Regions from separate parts of the Homo sapiens genome. Here region 1 is linked to region 2. The links are contacts of gene promoters, found by promoter capture Hi-C in blood cells and fetal thymus (Javierre and others, 2016). All regions are on one chromosome and are shown on one strand. The core of a region is centred on a gene start or on the middle of the fragment in contact, and the rest is flanking DNA. Distances in the headings are between cores, read along the strand shown. Region 1 overlaps NIN (ninein). Region 2 holds the start of ABHD12B (abhydrolase domain containing 12B).

What was found. The method cuts DNA at HindIII sites, captures the fragments that hold promoters and counts their contacts. A CHiCAGO score of 5 or more calls a contact.
Region 1: a contact is called between a fragment that was not itself captured here and the fragment with the promoter of ABHD12B in region 2, in 1 of 17 cell types (neutrophils). The highest score is 5.1, in neutrophils.

Annotation. Positions count from the first base shown.
Region 1 is chr14:50,718,867-50,724,449 of GRCh38, reverse strand. It overlaps NIN (ninein), which reads left to right. Exons shown (of 31, transcript NM_020921.4): 31 at 778-4,687. The coding sequence ends at 987. Among named protein-coding and RNA genes, the nearest start is that of SAV1, 53 kb to the right of the region's middle. The HindIII fragment of the contact is 2,079 bases long and covers 1,651-3,729 here.
Region 2 is chr14:50,867,984-50,873,914 of GRCh38, reverse strand. It overlaps ABHD12B (abhydrolase domain containing 12B), which reads right to left and starts at 1,862. Exons shown (of 13, transcript NM_001206673.2): 1 at 1,637-1,862. The coding sequence starts at 1,740. The HindIII fragment of the contact is 8,761 bases long and covers 1-1,951 here.

The sequences.
Region 1 (5,583 bases), core at 1,441-3,940, 150 kb after region 2:
TGCTGTCATCCTTATCCCTGCCCTTTGAAATGCTAATAGGTTGTTAAGCTACTCTTTAGTTACTCTTTATTCTCATAAACCTTTATACTTTTAGATGCCCTACTTGAAATTGGGTGTAAAATGAACACTTGTAACATGGGAAGGGGGACTGGAAAATATTAACCAGAACAACAATGAAAGTATCCCAAGGCTGCTAACAAGTTTTCCCACCCCAACCTAGACCATATATTCTAACTATAAAGATTAGACTAGACAAGGCCCCATGCAAAACAAAACAAAAACAAAGACAATTCAGGAGAAGTAACTGCCCAAATCTTATCTCTGTTATAATACATGAGCTAAATTTTAAAATAATCAGTGGGTTGTAGTTACGAATGGTAAGTTCAAGTATCTGTTGTTACAAGCAGAGTTAAACAGTCCACACCTGACACCTCAGGAATTTAAGTTATAAAAGTATTTGATATTTTTAAAGAATAAATACAGAAATAATGCCTATTTAGGTAGAAAAAAAACTTTTGGTGCCATCTAATATCAATCTGTTCTATTAGTAACTGACATAAACATCTCATGCAAAGAAATAGCTTAGAAAAAGTAGATTTGTTCCAATGGTGTCCCTGATGCCAAGTCTGATGTTAAAGCTATTTTGTAAAATAAAAGAATATAATTAGACGAAGTGATTTGCCTTTATAAAACAACTGTCCTTATGTCAGACCTTAAACTGAAGGTTTAAGAAGAGTTACAGAAATGGAGTCAAGATGTTTCTGGTTCTGTTTCTAGCTCTGCAAGAACACTAAGGCAGACGCAATGGTGAAGGACTTGTATGTTGAAAATGCCCAGTTGTTGAAAGCTCTGGAAGTGACTGAACAGCGACAGAAAACAGCAGAGAAGAAAAATTACCTCCTGGAGGAGAAGATTGCCAGCCTCAGTAATATAGTTAGGAATCTGACACCAGCGCCATTGACTTCTACACCTCCTTTGAGGTCATAGCCAAACCAAAGGGTACACTCATATTTGTGCACTTTACTGAAATAGATGAACATTTCAGTAGGTTCTCAACTTAAAATTAAGCCTAACCTAAAACTGCCAGCAACACAACTGGAGTTTCCATTTATCATAATTAGTTTTTCTAAATAGACCCTTATGGGAGTTTGAAAATAAATACTCACATATTTCACTACTTAAATTATTCCCAAGATTTGAATTTATTTTAAAATTTTAATAGCCACCAAGAATGTGGACATATGAAAATTCAAGAACCTAAAAAATACCAGTTTTGAATGAGTTTTTGTGGTTTTGGTTTTTTTTTTAATTATTACAAATCTATGTGTAAAATCTAGATATTTGAAGTTTGAGATCTGATGAGAATGGTTGTTATAAACTTTATTTTAAAACCAAATTTAGGTGTTCTTACATATTTAAATACTGGAAAGTCATTATAATAGTTTTGGTTCTTTGAATTGGTAGACAATTAGTAGAGTATAATTGGTTAGGAGGCAGGGCTTATTAAGTGGTTATTAACCGCTGACATCAGACAAACCCAAATCTGTAGAATTCTAACCTTCTAACACCTGTGACAGTATTACCACTCTTCTTGTATTATAGATTTAGAACTGATTTACTCAATTGCACTCTTAACTAATGTTAAAAGCTTACTTGCTTTAAACAGCCTTTTCTTCTTTCTCTTAAAAGTTTCATTTGGGGAGCTGGTCTTCTAAGAAACGGATAAAGCCACATAATTAAAGCAGTTGAACTATAGGGAAAGCACTGAACAAACCACTTTGGAGTAAATAGCTACTCTTAGAAAAGAGGGATAAGCAGACCATGTAGGTTTTCTGTCTCTCAAATCTTAGAGTTCATAAATTTACTTGAGGTTGCCTCAAGAACTCAGGGAACAATACTGTAAACTGTCTTCCTGAACTACTGTAGGGCCTCTCTAAGAATTTGAAATGTATAAACCATGTGACCTCATTTATTTGTCTTATATATTTACAGCCATACTAGAATTTTTATTTCTACGTTTTTAGTAAATTTAATATTCTGGGGGAAAAAAGGCCTTGATTTTAGGGTTAAAAACCTGACTTATAGAAGAGTTTATTTAATATAGGTCAAAATTTTCTGTGTTTCTTATTCCTTCTATACCTCAAATCTGATTCTAAGAATTTCTTACTGTGATAATCATTGGCATGCCACCTGAGGTCAAGGAGTGCCAAATAGGACTTTCCACTCATGCTCAAGATCAAAACTTTATAGAACAGTCAACATTTTAGATTCGGTAACCTTTTTTTTCTTCCAATTATAATCTCTGCTAGCCACTTCCGCCAGCAGTTGGTGGAAGACTTACTAGGTGCAGGGCACTTTCCAAGTTCATCACAACAACCTGCTTGTTTTCATGAGACAATAATCCGAAAAGTTCGCTTTGATATATTCCTGGAGGGCCAAGCCCATCTATTTACAAAAGGTGAACAGCAAAATCAAGCACTGCTTTATGGGCAGGAACACAAGAGAAAGCAAACTGCCCAAGAAGTCATCATGTCAGAAACTCAATCTCAACAAAATAATTTCCATCAGGGAACTTCAGGGTTTCTTGGGGGCTTATGAGTCTCACCGGTCAACCCAGGAGGCCTCACTACAAGAGCCTTGACAAGGCACTGTTTTTTGTGGGACTGGGAGTTCACACTGATGAAGCAAACCTTTGAATTTTTGCACAGCTCTTGTCAGAAAGCCCTGAGTTCCCCCTGGATAAAGAGTTAATTTTAATCCTTCCCTATAATTATACTTCAAAATATTTGACATCTGCTATTATGCCTTCTTTAGATCTTTCTTCTGTGGTGCAGACATTTCTAGTAAGTGTTTGACTACTTGTATGGCATTAGCTTTCACAGAAAATTGTTTCACTTAAAACTGTGGATTGGCCTAGGCTAAGGACAAAAATAAACTAAGTACCTGTAGTGTATTTATGTGATATGTGTCAAGTTACTCAAAGTTATTGCTGTTGGAACTGAACAATAATATTTCCCAGATAGCTGGCCTTAGCATGTGATCACGGTTGTTGTATTTTTAATTTTTGTCTTTTACAGTATGAGAGGTGTAGGTTAATTTGTTTATTTCCTATAAATTTGTATTTATGTGTATATAAAATGTACAATGAATGTAAATATGACTTTCTGGAAAGTTTAGACTACATTTAGAATCTCTATTCAAAATCAAAATGCTGCTCAAATGAATTTAACCAACATCTAGGTGCTTAATTTCTCATTTTATCCCACTTATGAGATTGGGAAAAAGATCAATATGAGAAATACCATACAGATACCTTAAATGTATGCATTTGTGCAACAATTTTTGAGAAGGTGAGTGGCAATTTATAATTTAGTTGGCAATTTATAATAGAACTTATAGCTTTTAAAAGACCTTTTAAAGACATTAAATGTAAACTTAAAAATGTTTAGATCTTGTTTCAAACTTTACAATAGCATTCTTCAAAATATTAAGTTATATATTTTATAGGCATTTAGTTGCTTATTAAAAGCACTGATTTTCAAACTTTTTGATTTAAGAACAATTATTTAAGATCGTCTCAGAAGATGGGATCTTCGTTTCAAGAAAAGGGAATCAAGTTTGCCTTTGAGATAATACGTTACACTAAGAAAAGGAAAATGTGGATAGTAAAACCCACCTCTCTCATCCTATTGTACTCTCTTCTGCTTTTTAGAAGCCTGCACTTAAGCTTAGATTTGTGAAGGGAGAGTAGAAGGGGAGAAGTAGAACCACAGTGTTTTATTTATTTTTCTAAAACTCTTACTAAATCCAGATTTTTTAAACTGTTTTAAATGTGAATTCTTCCCAGAAATTTCAATGCATTGCATATTTAGCCTTCGGCATATTTTTCATGAATAGATCATGAAGTCATAGGCTTCCAAGGCATAGGAAGAGATCTTGCAGGTCTAGTATTTTAATAATGCACTATTACCCAGGGCAGATATTATGAGAAACTGTTTCTTCTCTAAGGGTTTATGGCAGACTTTGCTTTTTTAACATGTGAGAAATGAATTTTTTATTTTGTGATTTATGTGATTTCTTTTGCTGAGTGAAGGAAAGGAGAAATTGTTGCTATTGTCAGCATCTTAAAGGTATTTCCAGTCAAGGCAAGGCTAAGTGCTTTGTGATAGTATTAAGCAAGTCATGTTTTGAATGGATTACCTGTAGTGACTCATTGGAATGATATAATTATACAAGTAATGCCAAAAACCAAGTCAAAGCCTAATTAACCAAAGCACTCATTTAAAAATCATCATGTTTGGACCTATCTGGACCTCTCAGCACTGTAAAATAGTTTTGGTTTTGTGGCATATGAATAGCTGTTTAACAAATCAAAGTTAGCTTTTTGCTTCTCAGCTTTTTTGGGCAATACAAGTTAAGTTCTTAATGGGGAGACATTATCATGGCATGACTTAAGGGAACATTGGTTTGTGAAGGAAAAACAGATTATCTAAAGCCATCTCTATGTTTCTGTTCAGATAAAGATTAATGAGTTCTGTGTTTATATCAGCTTTGTATATTTCATCTTAGCCATTCTATCCTAGAAAGATTTTAATGTGAGCTTAAGATGTAAATAAATAATTTTGCAAACATGCCTTTTGTTTTCTATATACCCTGACCTTTTAATAAAGTTTCAGTGTATTTATCATTGGTCTTTAGAATGGTAGCATCAAAATATTTCACTAAACACATTCTACAAATGCAGAATCTCAGCCCGCACTCCAGACCTACTAAATCAGAATCTTCATTTTAAAGAGATTCCCCAAGTGATTTGTATAGGATTTAGAGCATTGGGACTCCATTTCTATTATAGAAGGATGACTTTTACACCAGCCAGTTTGGGGTCCCCGTATACTGTGGCAGTGCATAGTTTACCTGCAGAATCATGACTTAACCTTGGGCAAGGCCCTGTTTGTGATTTTGGGTGCTTCAAAGATGGCTTTATTTCATGTTGCCATCTTTAGGGGTGGCTCAGACTTTCTTAATTGAGCAGCTCATGAATGATGAGATATATGCAGTTGGAAACACAAAAACAACCTAAAACCATGTTAATATGCTGAACACTGAAATGTAGAATTGGAAATGTTGGCCAAACTGACCCATCTCACAAGCCTGTTTTATTTCATTTCAAAGCTTTTATACCAACCTCATACTGCCTTTATGTGGCAGGAACTACCATTATTCCCATTTTATGGATGAGAAAATGGAAGCTTAGCAAACTCAAGGCCACACTGCCAGCTAGGTCGGGAACTTGGGACTAGAGGCTCAGGTTTGTCCTGTGTTGCAACACTTCTATCAGTTCCTACTTCTGGCAGAACTATCAGTGTTGGTTCAATGGCAACCATGTACACTGCACTCTGAAGAAAGTACTGTGTAAAACATTCCTGCCATCTGTTTGTGGTGGAGTGGTAAGATTTACACAGAAAAGAAGATTAGAAAATCTACATCCATACAGAAGATAATCAAATGTTGATGGACTCTGTGCTATGAGCACCAAAATAAGATTAGTGTCAAATGGGTAAGGTCCTTAACCTAGCATTCAAT
Region 2 (5,931 bases), core at 613-3,112:
ACTTTTTTCACTAATTAGTAAGGCAAGTAATAGATGGTCCCCAACTCCCTATCTCCCACTCCATTATCAACAAAGTGGGTTATTCTCTATGAGTATGATGTGCAACTTTGATTCTCTGCCTAATAAATGCCCTTTACTGCCAAATAAATGTTAAATAATCAGCCATCAATTCCACAGAGACCATCAAAGTGAAAAACATTAGATGTCAACGTTCCCAGAATCACCACATCTGGGAGAGAAGTCCTGTTAATATGCAGTTTGACAAGTGCAATCAGGACATTCTGCCACGTGTTCAGATCCAACCCAGAGCTGGGAGGCATGGGTTCTAGGTGACTGGGCCCCTGCAGAGCTGCCAGCACTCTGCTGTCTGCAATGAGAATAAAAAGGAATAGAAGAGAAAAGAGACCAGGTGCAGTGGCTCACACCTGTAATCCCAACACTTTGGGGTGCCAAGGCAGGTGGAATCTGTGAGCTCCAGGAGTTTGAGACCAACCTGAACAATGTAGTGAAAACCCATATCTACACAAAATACAAAAATCAGCTCAGTGTGGTGGCAGGTGCCTGTAGTCCCAGCTACTGGGGAGGCTGAGACGGGAGGATCGCTGGAGCCCTGGGAATGAGCCAAGATTGTGCCACTGCACTCCAGCCTGGGCAACAGAGTGAAACCCTTGTCTCAAAAAAGAAAAAAAAAAGAGAGAGAGAGAGAGAAAAGATCCCCGTTTGTCATCATCACTCTGGGCACTCCAAAGTGAGGTCTCCTGTGTCTGGATGTAATTTTTGGATATTTTCTAATCAGCACAAATTAAACAAAAGGAATAGAAAGAGGGAAGTAAAAATGCCAATACCTTCCCACACCAACAAAACTAAATGAAATACCCACGTGTCCTGGGTCCACGATCTCCAACCAATACCTGGCTTCAGTGCAAACAAGACTGACAATATGTTGCAGGTGGATTCAGGTAATTTAAGATTACTGTTTAAACCGAGGATCCATGGGAGGAAGAAAACAGAAACAAAACCCGAAACACCCACTGATACATTTCAGACTTAAACAACATAAGAACTTGGCACAGGTAATGCCAAGTTATGGTTTCAACACACTATGTACATCTTTAGCATACTGGAGGTGTTTTCTTTAAATACATGCCAGGGAGTTCACACTCAGGGAACTAGGCACGGATTTTCTGATTCTTTTCCACCTACACAGATAGGCCCTTGACCTAAGAGGATCCCGTCCAAGATTACAACATATATTACTATTGTCACTATTACTAATGTCATTCAGATCCATCTTGTATGTTAGCAAAATGGTCAGATAATAGAGATTGGTGTAGGAATTCAACCATCTCCCTGGCATCTGTATTTCAGAAGCCCCCAAAAGTTATAACTTCCTGAAATACCAAACCTGAGAGTCTCGCTGGTCCAGGTTGGGATTGAGGCTGAGGATAGCAAGGGCAACCAAAGAGCCCTAGAGTTCTCAGGGGGCCGCCGAGGTCCCCCGGAAGCCACAATGCTGGGCCTTGGGCCCGGGCCAGCAGAGGGGATTGCGGCCTCGGCCGCGCCCTGGCCCCCTGCCCCATCCCCGCGCAGCCTGAGCCGTCGGGGCCCGGCCAGGGGTGGACCGGGCGGTACTCACCGCAGGTTGCGGTCGACCATGTCCCACCAGGCGGCCACGCAGCTACGGGCTGGGGGCCCGGGCGGCTCGGGCGATGCGGCCGCCTGGCAGTCCTGCGCGTCCATCCCGCGCCGTGTCCCGATACGCCGCCACCGCCGCGGGAGCTGCAGTCCGGAGCAGCCGCCCGCGACCTTCCCGCCCCGGCGGCACCGCGCCCGCCCTCCTCCTCCGCGCGGTCAGGCAGGCTGGTACGGCGGGGGAGACGCGGCCCGAGGGTGCGCTCCGCCCGGGTCAGGCTGTTCGCGGCCACACACACACACACAGATGTCCTAAGCTTATAGCTAGCTATGCTACATTTTATTTTAAATTGATTTCCATTATACTTCTGTGTGTGTGTGGGTGTGAGGCGCGCGCAACGCAGTAAAATATGTTTTCACCATGGTACTACTAACACAAAAGTTTGACCGCCACAGCTTTTGATTTTCATGAAGAATATAAGCTTTCCTCTACTTAAACCTCACTTTTTTCTTTTTCTCTTTTTCTGAAGCCTCCTTGTCTCCAATTCCCCATCCACCCCCAAAATCCTCACAGCCCCCCACCCTGTCACCCTTACTATAGAAAGAATTTCTTTGGCTCCCTTTGATTTACTAATGATTTGTCTGTCCACGTGGGGTTATGAACACAATTACTCCATGTAGCAAAAAATTAAGACCTTTTCGGTATTTTGTTTACGTAGCAGCATGTAGCAGAACCTCATCATTGTACCAAGGAGTTCACACCTTGAAACTTTGACCTTGGTACAGGTTTACATCTTGGTGCAGGTTTACATTGTGCAACTGTCTCCTAGGAGCAGGAACTGTCTACCAGAGCTACTCTAGGGAAGCCACGGCCTGCATGTGTGGGGACAAAGGAGGAAGAAAGGGAATTAGGTTTTATTTGGATACATTCGGATGCCAGCATCAAGGCTTCATCTTGGAGGCAAGGTGCAAATCTTAAGAGGTGAAATGGGTTTTTTGTAGTGTCTGTGTTCAGAGGGCACAGCAGGGGGCTGTCAGCACCAGAAAGTGCGTGGAAACCCATCTGCTTGAGGATAGTAAGATGGTCTGGGGGAAAATACCCACACTTTTCAAGAAAGGGAAGTTTTCTTTGAGTACTAGCTCATTTCATGGAACTGTCAGGGCAAAGGGGGATTTTGTTCACTGCCTGTTAATACTCTTATACTTGCTCTGGGAATGTTTGTTTTCTTTGTTTCTTTCTCTTTCCTTCCTTCCTTTCTTTCTTTCTTTCTTTCTTTCTTTCTTTCTTTCTTTCTTTCTCTTTCTTTCTTTCTTTCTTTCTTTCTTTCTTTCTTTCTTTCTTTCTTTCTTTCTTTCTTTCTTTCTTTCTTTCTTGTCATGGTCTTACCCTGTCACTGAGGCTGGAGTGCAGTGGTGCAATCATAGCTCACTGTACTTGAACTCACTTGAACTCCTGGACTCAAGCAATCCTTCCACTCCAGCCTCCCAAGTAGCTGGGACTACAAGCATGCACCACTATGCCTGGTGCGCGCGCGCACGCACGCTTGTGTGTATAGAGATGAGATCTCACTATGTTGCCCAGGCTGCTATCAAACTCCTGGCCTCAAGCAATTCTCCCACTTCGGCCTCCCAAAGTGCTGGGATTACAGGTCTCTGTCACCACACCTGGCTGGAATGTTCAGTTTCTGATTCACACACATCAAGATAGAAGAGGAATTAGCTCAGAAAGGACCAATGGGATCCAAGCCTGACTGATGAGCCAGCAGCAGGTGGGTTTTCACAGAGCCACAACCTGCATGATGAGAAAGCTTCAAGCAGATGTCGGCTCTACCCTTGGAGTTCTTCATAAACGTGGTCTGGAATCTCCCAGAACTTGTTCAGGGAAGCTCTGGATGGGACTCTGGGGCCATGCCAAGTGGAGATGGAGGGATCAAAGATGGGGAGGAGAGCTTGGAGGAGAGAAGAACAGCTGCATATGGTCCCAGAGTCTATTTCCATCTACTTGCTCAGGTTGAGAGAGGATATTTCCATCTACTTGCTGGATGAACAAAGTTGTAAGCCCCAAGTCTAGGGATATGTTTGAAATGCTCAGCAAAAATCTCTGAAATTGGAAATCACTATGGCCCATTTTTTGAAAGGTTGCATAAGACTCTGCAAGAAGGTCTTTCCCAGTATAAATAGCCCCTTTCAAATGGCACATCCTGGAAATCAGGGAACAAAGTCTCCCATATGATTTGATAGAACCTGAAAAACAAAATATGCATTCATTTATTCAGCACCCATTTACTGAGCACCTTTTAGGTACCAGGTACCACATTGGGCACCGTAGGGATACAAATCAGGATCCCAGCTGGTAGAGATTCATTTCAGGATGAACCATGAGAACACAGAACAGGAAATGAAAAGTGTCTTAAGGGTAGAGATTAAATCAGGGGATAGCAGGGGCTGGAGGTGGGGAGGGGAGGTTGACTACAAAGGGGTGCGAAGGGACATTTTAGAGTGATGGGAATAGTCAACATCTCAAGTGTGGTGGTGGTTACTATAAATATCCACCAATGCATATAACTCACAGGTGAATTTGACTGAATATGAATTATACCTCAACAAACCTGACTTTTGAAAAGTGACCTAAGAAATGTACAGATAAACTATATAAATGAACATGTCCTATGTCATGTTGTATAAATGTTAAGACAAAGCTGATGGTACAAATACATCAGAAACCAACAGTTGAATGTTATTTGCACTAGCAGAAAAATAAATCTTGATTGGAGACAGATTAATTTGACCACCTAAAATTATTCTGGAAAAACAGGGAATGGGGAATAAGACTGACCACCTCTCAGCTGCTGTACAGCTGTGAAGGTAAACTGCTGGTAATAAGGCAGTTGGGTGTTGAAGACCTAGATATCTTGAAAAGAAAGTATGCATCCCCCTTGTGTTTTCTTTTATTTTAAATAAAGCATTATGAGACATAAAATTCACACACTATAAATTCACTATTTTAAAGTATACAACTCAGTAATTTTAGTATATTCTCAGAGTTGTGCATCTATCACTATTATTTACAATAACTTTAGAACATTTTTATCACAGCCCCCCAGAGAAATCCTATACCCATTAGCACTCACCATTCCTCCCTTCACCTGCCCTAAGCAATCACTAATCTACTTTCTGGCTCTGTGCATTTGCCTATTCTGGACATTTCATATAAATGAATTAAACAATATGTTGCATTTTGTGTCTGGCTTCTTTAACTCAGTATAGTGTTTTCAAGGTTCATCCATGTGCTATCTCAGTGAATACTTCATTCGTTTTGGTGGCTGAATAATATTTTTTTGTATGGATATACCACATTGTGCTTATCCACTCATCAGTTGGTGGACATTTGGGTTGTTTCTACCTTTTGTCTATTGTAAATAATGTTGTTATAAATATTTGCATACAAGTTTTTGTGTGGACTTACGTTTTCATATCTCTTTATTGTACAACTAGGAGTGAAATTGCTAGGTCATATAGGTAACTCTATGTTTAATTTTTTGAGGAACTGCCAAATTGTTTTCCAAAGTGGCTACCCCATTATACAATCCCACCAACATAAGCACCATGTACCTTTTTTACCCTTTCTCAGCTTTCCGTGCACAGGTAGGAATTTTTTTTAATCTAATATTGTTGAGATTGAAATAAACCATTAAAGGGAAGTTTGAGTCCAGTCCCAGACGATAGGGAAAGAATGATGTAACTAACTCACTCAGAATATTTATTTTTCTATGTTGTTAGTTTTAGATTGTCTTCCTCTATATTAGATCTAATTTTAAGACAATTCATTATAGCTTCAAGAGTAGCTGTTGGATTATTCTCATGTGCTTAGAATTGAGAGTATTAATACGGGTTTCCTTTTAGCTAAAGGGGTGGTTTCTTTGAGAAGAGAAAATGACAATGTCATGGGCCCCTTTCAGTTGAAACTGGAAGTGCTTGAGTACATTGGGTACACCGTTTCTTCCAAAGAGCTCTCCACATTCCCAGACATGGCTCATAGGGTCCTTGCTCTTCTACAGTAAAACACGAGATTTGGTTTTCCTAAATATCTATGGAAGAACTGAGCTGGGATTAAACCCCAGCAGTTACAACTCCCTCCTACCTCTCTGGGTATTACTTTCCAAATTCCTCCAGCCATTCCTTAAAAGTTAGCTGTTCTCAGGGTTCCTTCCTAGCTCTGCTTCTCTTCTTGTGTTGTATACACCAGGATTTCCAAATCTATTGGGAAAGAGGCCAGGCGTGGTGGCTCACACCTGTAAT